3 separate regions of the Homo sapiens genome follow, and all the other regions are linked to region 3. Evidence: promoter capture Hi-C in 16 types of primary human blood cells and fetal thymus (Javierre and others, 2016). All regions are on one chromosome and are shown on one strand. The core of a region is centred on a gene start or on the middle of the fragment in contact, and the rest is flanking DNA. Distances in the headings are between cores, read along the strand shown.

What was found. Contacts are between HindIII fragments. The CHiCAGO score rates a contact against its expected background, and 5 or more counts as called.
Region 1: a contact is called between a fragment that was not itself captured here and the fragment with the promoter of ACTR6 in region 3, in 3 of 17 cell types (total CD4 T cells, total CD8 T cells and total B cells). The highest score is 6.1, in total CD4 T cells.
Region 2: a fragment that was not itself captured here is called in contact with the fragment with the promoter of ACTR6 in region 3 in 6 of 17 cell types (naive CD8 T cells, naive CD4 T cells, total CD4 T cells and 3 more); the score reaches 8.2 in naive CD8 T cells.

The regions. Positions count from the first base shown.
Region 1 is chr12:101,302,772-101,305,471 of GRCh38, forward strand. The region is part of intron 15 of UTP20 (UTP20 small subunit processome component); the gene reads left to right. Among named protein-coding and RNA genes, the nearest start is that of UTP20, 24 kb to the left of the region's middle. The HindIII fragment of the contact is 8,224 bases long and covers 1-2,700 here.
Region 2 is chr12:101,319,833-101,322,532 of GRCh38, forward strand. UTP20 (UTP20 small subunit processome component) reads left to right here. Exons shown (of 62, transcript NM_014503.3): 24 at 1,020-1,105; 25 at 1,672-1,797. Among named protein-coding and RNA genes, the nearest start is that of UTP20, 41 kb to the left of the region's middle. The HindIII fragment of the contact is 298 bases long and covers 1,119-1,416 here.
Region 3 is chr12:100,199,452-100,202,218 of GRCh38, forward strand. It overlaps ACTR6 (actin related protein 6), which reads left to right and starts at 1,364. Exons shown (of 11, transcript NM_022496.5): 1 at 1,364-1,468. The coding sequence starts at 1,401. RefSeq lists a silencer at 308-667 and enhancers at 1,160-1,454, 1,428-1,627, 2,472-2,767. The HindIII fragment of the contact is 11,223 bases long and covers 1-2,767 here.

The DNA of each region.
Region 1 (2,700 bases), core at 140-2,639, 1.1 Mb after region 3:
CGTGTGTAGATTAATGTCGTAAAGTTTGAAGGGTTTGTAATGCTGATCATTCCCAACTGTAACGTGGCATGATGTTGACCTTTTATAACTTCTTTAGTGGTTCCAACATGCACATTCCCACTCTTGTTCGGCCTCAACTTGAGGTGATCAGCATTTCAGAAAACTTCCCTGTGGTCTTTTTACTACACACTGAAACAATCCAGTTTCTTTTTTTTTGTTGGTTTGGTTTCTTTGTTTGCTTTTTAAGTATAGTTTAGCCAGCCTTTGATTTTGATAGCAGCACAGAGCCATTTGAGAGGAGCCAACAATATATCTTTTCTAAAGGTCAAGCCTTGCTGCTTTTTCCTGAAGTCTACTCCATTTTATTTCCAAGTGTTTTAAAGATTTATTCATTCACTTTGTTCAGTAGGTAATCATTTGCTTTTCTCACATGCCAAGCCCTGTTCCAGGCACTGTGAAACATAGTGAATAAAACAGACAAAATTCCCTGCCTTCTTGTAGCTAATGCTCTAGCCAGAAGAGGCACTAAACAGAATAAAAAGTAAACTATATAGCGTGTTAGGAGGTGCTAAGTGCTGTGAAGAAAAACAAAGCAGGGTCAGGAGATAGGGAGAGTCCAGAGGTGAGGGGAGCGGTAGCAGTTTTAAATCAAGGTGAACTTACTGAGGAGGAGACACTTAAGCAGAAGGCGGAAAGCAGTGAGGGACGTAAGCCATGAGGATACCTGCGGTCTGGGCTGCTCCCTGGGTTCCAGACCTGGAGGCGACATGAATGCCAACGCTCTGTGGGGGTGGTGGGTGCCTGGCTTGAACAGCAAGGAGAGGTCATCTTGGCTGAGCAGAGCACGAGAGTGGGCTGTAGGAGAAGAGGACAGAGAGGTGGAGGCAGTAGACCTCCTTAGGTCACCGTAGGGCCTTGGCTTTTACTCTGAATGAAAGGGGAGGCCATGGGAGGATTTTTGGCAGTGGAATGACTTTGACCTAAACAGAATCACTCCGGCTGCTGTGTTGAGACTGTAGGGGAATACTATAATAATCTGGAATCTCTTTGCCTTTCCAAATCTGGGTGAAGTTGGCATTTCTCCATGGTTAATTGCATTGGTTTAAATTAACTTCCTGTAGAGAGGATTAGTTCTTTGACATCACCACATTTACCATATTACATAGTCTCCCTTTTAAAATCATTCTGTTTAAACTTCTCATACTTTCACCCTTGGTATAAACAATTGAAGGTGGCTGTAGAAATTGAAACAAAAGACACACATAGCACAGAATGGGGTCCATGTTCCCCTTGGGGAAGGCCAGCTTGCCTCCCAGCCAGGTGGCTCTAAGCCTTGGAGACACAGAGTTGTCCAACAGGAGTGGCTCTGGTTTTGAGGGCAGGGGCATAAACTTGCAGAGTAGATGCAGGATTCTGTTCTCTTTGCTATGCTAGTAGACTGATGAGCACCTAGGTTTCACAGCCAAGACTGCCTGGTTTTGACTCTTGAATCCACCACTTACTAGCTGTAGCCTTGGGTGACTTAGTTAACCTCAACTTGATTATCTCTCAAAAAGGGGTAGTGAAGAAAAAAAGGAAGGAATAGAAATCTCACCTTGTAGAGATTAAGTTATACAATGCATGCAATAATAGTAATAAACAATTGCATTGATTGTGTCACAACAATTCCATGATGTGTGGGTACTGTTATCAGTATAGATGGAGGAACTAAAGTTTCAAAAGAAAGCCCTGGTCTGAACTCCTTTCTTCCGCTCTTGCCCTGCTGCTTCTAAGTATAGGACAGATCATGCCACTCCTTTGCTCATCACCCTCTAATACAGTGCTTCTCAACTGGGAGCAAACCTGGAGACTTTCCAGCTGTCACAGCATGGGGAAAGAGCACTGTTACTGGCATCTAGTGGGTGGAGGCCAGGGATGCTGCTGAGCCCCCTGCAGTGGGCAGCACTGCCCTCCACCACAAAGAGTTCTCTGGCCCAAAATGTCAGTAGTGCTACTGTAGAGAAACCTTGCTCGAGAGGTATCCCATCTCACTCTATAAAATCCAGCATCCTCATCATGTTCCTCGGGGCTCCGTATGAGCTAACTCCTGGCTAGTTCTGACATCTTCAGGCACTCTTTGTTAGTTCCAGCTGAGATGGCCTCCTCGATGTTCCTGCAGACAAGCACACCTCAGACTGGCATTGCAGTTCCCTCTGCCTAGAATGCTTTTCTTTCAGATACCCTTTTAGCTGACTTTTTCACTTCCTTTGGTCTCCGTTTTTTAGGAGCACCCCTGTATCAAATGGTGCTTCTCTTCACCTCCACACCGTCTCCCCACAACTCCCTGCATGTCAATCTCTTTGTCAAGCCTTTTTCCCCTGGTTTTCTGGAGAAAACCAGGGTTTTCTCCAGAACCTGGTTTCTCCAAACCTGGTTTCATGGAGCCTTTCTCCATGACGCTCATCACTGTCATAGTACTTATTTATTGGCTACTTTCCCCTACTAGAATATAAGTTCCAGGAAAAGGAACTTTGTCTTTTGTTAACTGCTATATCTACAGTATCTAGAAAAGTCACAGTACATAGTAGGTACTCAATGAATATTTGTTGCATAAGGATGGTACCAAGAGGTTAAGCAACTTGCCTGAGGTTACACTGCTTATGAGTAATGGTGCCAGATTCAACCCTGGGCTGCCCTACCCCAGAGCTCGTGTGTCAGACT
Region 2 (2,700 bases), core at 18-2,517, 1.1 Mb after region 3:
ATTTTGAAGGCATTTTGGGTGACTAAACATTGATTGGCTGTGTCAACAGTGAGAATAGCAAAGCATGAATTATATCATGGAAATTAGCTTTTAGAAGGGAGTAGGGTTTATACAAAAAAACAAGTGACTACTTTTCCCTTCTAGTTTAGTCAGACTTCATAGAGGACTGGGATTTCAGGATCTATTGTAGTCCATTGCAGTCATAATTACGTGGCCCTGAATTTCAGATAAGCTTGCAGAAAAAAATTAATATCAGAAATGAAGTAAGCATTGGATGTAATTCTAAGCCATCTGGGGAAACAAAATTTTCATTTTTCATTTGGATGTTTCTTCTGGCATCTTATTGACTATCATTACCTTCATAGGATAAGAGATTTTCCTTAGTACATGACCAGCCTAGTTGGCTTAAATCCAGATTCACATAGAGAATCGGCCTCACCAGGCTGCACACAGTAGCTCACGCCTGTAATCCTAGCACTTTGGGAGGCCAAGGCGGACAGATCACCTGAGCTCAGGAGTTCGAGACCAGCCTGGGTAACATGGTGAAACTGCGTCTCTACCAAAAACAAAAAAATTAGCCAAGTGTGGTGGTGGGTGCCTGTGGTTCCAGCTTCTCGGGAGGCTGAGGCAGGAGAATCGTTTGAACCCAGGAGGCAGAGGTTGCAGTGAGTCGAGATCGTATCACTGCACTCCAGCCTGGAAAACAGAGCAAGACTCTGTTTGAAAAAAAAAAGAGAAAGAGAGAGAGGATTGGCCTCACCCAAAAGCTGGTAGACCCCAGGGTATGACTGTGGGATGCAGGTGTCAGAGAGTTTTGTTTCCATTTTTACTTTGCATATATTCTGTTCATCTTTTTTTACTTCCAGGAAAATGTGAAGCTGTTGTTAGCAATCAGGTTTAGGTCTTGTGTAAAAATTTAGAATTTTTCAAATCTCATTTAGCAAATAACCACAAGTAAATTGCTATCCTATGGTATATGTATATATGACTTCATTAATTCTGTAAAATACTGTTCTTAGTTGTTGCTACACCAAGATCAAATGGTGCAAAAAATAACCTTGGATTGCATAATGACATATAAACATCCTCATGTCCTCCCTTACAGGTAAGTTACTTGAAGCTTAAAGAACTGTTATTTCTTCAGCTGATTTTTATATTTCTGCCTAAGAGCCTCTTCTAGAATAATTTATTAAAGGCCTAGAAAGTTTCCCTTTTTTCTGAGGTCATCGTATTTCCAAGCAAGAAATGAAAACGAGTAGTATATTTGTTGGGTTGTTCTCCATGATACTAAAATAGAGAATGTTAATTTTAAAACTGTGTTGTAAATATTATGTCATTTTCCTCTTCTTATTAATATAATGCCATAGAATCTTGGTGGTTACTTAGAGAATCAAAGTCACTCTAAGAACTGAGGAAAGCTTTTTGTATCATGCTTTTTTAAACAGCTGAGTTATGGACAGAATCTAATCTTTTCTAATCCGTTATACCTTTTGAAATGTACAAATCTGTCATTTTAGGAGATTTTTTTGAGGATTTTCCTTTATGGATATCAACCATAATATGTACTATATACCTTATTTTAGTTATTACTCTGTGTACATATTTCACTCTTTCATTATTCAAAAGCACTGTTGATAAAGTGGTGATTTGTGCTGTTCTCTGTTTTTAAAGGGAAAACTTACAAAGGTTGCTTGAAGACAGAAGCTTTAAGGAAGAGATAGTGCATTTTAGCATTTCAGAAGATAATGCTGTAGTGAAAACAGCCCACCGAGCAGATCTATTTCCTATTCTGATGAGGTATTTATGCTGTTCAAACACTGATTTTTAAAAAGTTAATAACAAACACAATTGTGAGTACAGTATTATGGTTCTTTCAACAACTGTAATAGAATATTTCATTTTCTATTTTCTTTTGATTGCATTTTCTTTGGAGATGGGGTCTTGCTCTGTCACCCAGGCTGGAGTGCAGTGGCATGATCACAGCTCATTGCAGCCTAGACCTCCCAGGCTCAAGTGATGCTCCCACCTTGGCCTCCCAACGTGCTAAGATTACAAATGTGAGCCATCACCGCCAGCTGCTTTTTTTTTGAATTGTACCTTTGGGAGAAGCCAAATTGGTATAGAGACTAAATTTTGTTCCTAACATAAAGAAAGATCTTTATTTATTTTTTTTTTAGAGGGAGTCTCGCTCTGTCACCCAGGCTGGAGTGCAGTGGTGTGATCTCAGCTCACTGCAACCTCCGCCCTCCCAGGTTCAAGCTATTCTTGTGCCTCAGCCTCCTGAGTAGCTGGGATCACAAGCGTGCGCCACCATGCCTGGCTAATTTTTGTATTTTTAGTAGAGAAAGAGTTTCACCATGTTGGCCAGGCTGGTCTTGAACTCCTGACCTCAGGCGATCCACCCGCCTCTGCCTCCCAAAGTGCTGGGATTACAGGCGTGAGCCACTGCGCCTGGGCCCTAATATAAAGAAGATCTTACCATAGTATTATTGTGACAATAATATAATTAAATTTAATATTTTCCTAAATTTTACTGTTGAGATACAGTAGAAATATTTCACTCTGTTTTCCAAATATCATGTGATATTTAATGATGTTATTATTCCTTTAATTATAAATGGTAGAGCAAAAAGATGATCCATAAATAATACAAAGTTTATATATGCTGGGTATAAAGAAAAATGAAGCTTAAATCTTTCA
Region 3 (2,767 bases), core at 114-2,613:
CAGGCCCCCAGGGGAGGCAAGGAGCGCCGACAGAAGGGCCCAGGCGCTTGCAGGGCGCGAGTTCCCACCTCAAGCACCGTGGCGGCTCCCGCGCTGCGCACCTGGAAGTGCGCAGGCTGCTCCGCCGCCTCGTCGGCGCGCTGGTAGCTGAAGCAGGCTTCTGCTATGTCCAGGTGGCCGAGGGGCAGCGGGTCGTGGGGGTTCTTGAAGTAGCAGAGGCAGCAGCGGCGCCCGTCCAACACGAACCGACGGCTGCGGTAGCCACGCAGTCGCGCTGGTTCCCGCGCGGTACCCGCCCCGGGCTCTGCAGCCTCCCCATCGCCGTCGCTGCCCTCCTCTGCCCGGGTTCCGGCCCCGGTATGGCTGCCTGCGCGCCAACCGTTTGTTCCCCGGCCCCCGCGCCTTCGCGCTGCGGCTGCTGCGCTCCCTGCCCCCGCGGTGCCCCCTTCCCGCCGCCCCGCTCCTCTCTCAGGCGCTCAAAGTGGCCTGGAATTTGTAGAACGCCCCCCTCCAAGCCCGTTGGCAGTTGTCCTAGCCCGCTGGCCCTTGCCCCCGCCCGCTGGCCGTTGCCCCCGCGACGCCCCGGAAGCCAGGTCCTGCCTCCCGCACCTGCCAAGTCCCCGCCCTGCCGGAGTCTCGCTCTGTCGCCCAGGCTGGAGTGTAGTGGAGCCATCTCGGCTCACTGCAACCTCCGCCTCCCCGGTTCAAGCAATTCTCCCGCCTCAGCCTCCCGAGTACTTGGGATTACAGGCGCCCGCCACCTCGCCCGGCTACTTTTTGTATTTTTAATAGAGACGGGGTTTCGCCGTGTTGGTCAGGCTGGTCTCAAGCTCCTGACCTCAAGTGATCTGCTTGCCTTGGTCTCCTAAAGTGCTGGGATTACAGGCGTGAGCCACCGCGTCCGGCCCAAAAGCCTTTTTTGGATGAGAAAGACTCACTCAGCTTCGTCCTGAAGAGCAAGTGGGCTGGGGAAGAGGAGAGTATGAATGTGAGTCCAAGAGCAAGTTTTGCACTTTTTTCTTCAAAGAATGTCACCGTCTGAAGAATGCGATTGGAAGACACACACACACACACACACACACACACACACGCAGCCGGTTCTCTACAGGATTAGAAAAAACTTGCGCGAATTAATCTGCGTAGTTAAAAACAAATACGAAATGAGCGAGAAAGCACATAGTAGTCAAATCTCGCCACCACATAAACAGGTTAAGTTTGGAAGCACAGCCCCTAACATTCGGTGCTGCTTAGCATCTCCGACTTCCGGCGTCCTCCGTTGCTAAGGTGACCAGAGGCGCGTCCTAACGCTCCGCCCAACAAACCATAGAGTACCGGAAAAAGCTCGAGCAGAGGGGTCGGAAAGGGAAAACAACTACGGCTGCGGTGTGGTTGGTGGTGAGATGACGACCTTAGTGCTGGATAATGGAGCTTACAACGCCAAAATCGGTTACAGCCATGAAAATGTGTCGTAAGTACTTTCTTTCTCCGAGGGACAAGATATATACGCCTAGTGGTTTCATGTGCTACGTTTCATCTCCGGACATCAATGAACTGCAGACACCCCCGCGCGGCCCTGACTTAGCCAGAGGGATTCCCTGGTTGGAGCTGGGTGGGTGATTGTGATGCTTTGAATTGAAATTGATTTTGGTTTTAGTTTTGGGCTGCGAGGCCCCGGAAGTGGGATATATGTTTTATTTCGTAACAGGAAATAGCCAAAGAAAATAGGCTTATAGAGATGCGTTCCTGACAGAAGGGTCCGTAAAGTTCATCAGCCTTTGGAAACTATGGGCACGGTGTTTGGGTGTATGCGGATTTTCCTGGGTACAAGATTATAGGTTTCATTAGATTCTCAAAGGGTTCTATGACCCTCCAAAAGTCTAAAAATCACGGTCTTAGGATCTAGAGGCTTTGAAGACTTTGGCCTACTGGCCGACCTAGTTGGTAAGGTCAATTAAACAGAAGTACTGTTAATACAATGGCATTCATAACATGTATAGTCATAAAATATATGTTTGAATAAATAAGCAAACCTAAAGACACGCCTTTCCTTTATCAAATTAACAGAGCATTAAAAAAAATTCTTTCCTTCCTCCCTCCTTTCCTTCTTTTTCATTTCTTTTGAAACAGAAATGAAAGAGGGAAATCAAACTGAGTAGGAATGTAAATTGTTACAATCTTTCTGGAAAACGTTTTGGCAATGTGTATCATTATCATTGTCACCGAGGCTGGAGTGCCGTGGTGCGATCTCAGCTCACTGCAGCCTGAATTCAAGTGATTCTCCCGCCTCAGCCTCCAGAGTAGCTGGGATTATAGGCGTGCACCACCACTCCCAGCGAATTTTTTGTATTTTTGTTAGAGACGGGGTTTCATCATGTTGGCCAGGCCGGTCTCGAGCCCCTGGCCTCAAGCAGTCTACCCGCGTTGGCCTCCCAAAGTGCTGGTATTAGGGGCGTGAGCCCTACACCCAGCTGACAAAGCAATTTTTTTTTTTTTTTTTGGAGAGGGAGTCTGGCTCTCTTGTCCAGGCTGGAGTGCAGTGGCACGATCTCGGCTCGCTGCAACCTCTGCCTCCCGGGTTCAAGCCATTCTCATGCCTCAGCCTCCCAAGTAGCTGGGACTACAGTTGCGCACCACCACGCCTGGCTAAGTTTTGTATTTTTAGTAGAGACGGGGGTTTCACCATTTTGGCCATGCTGGTCTGGAATTCCTGACCTCGTGATCTGCCTGCTTCAGCCTCCTAAAGTGCTGGGATTACAGGTGTGAGCCA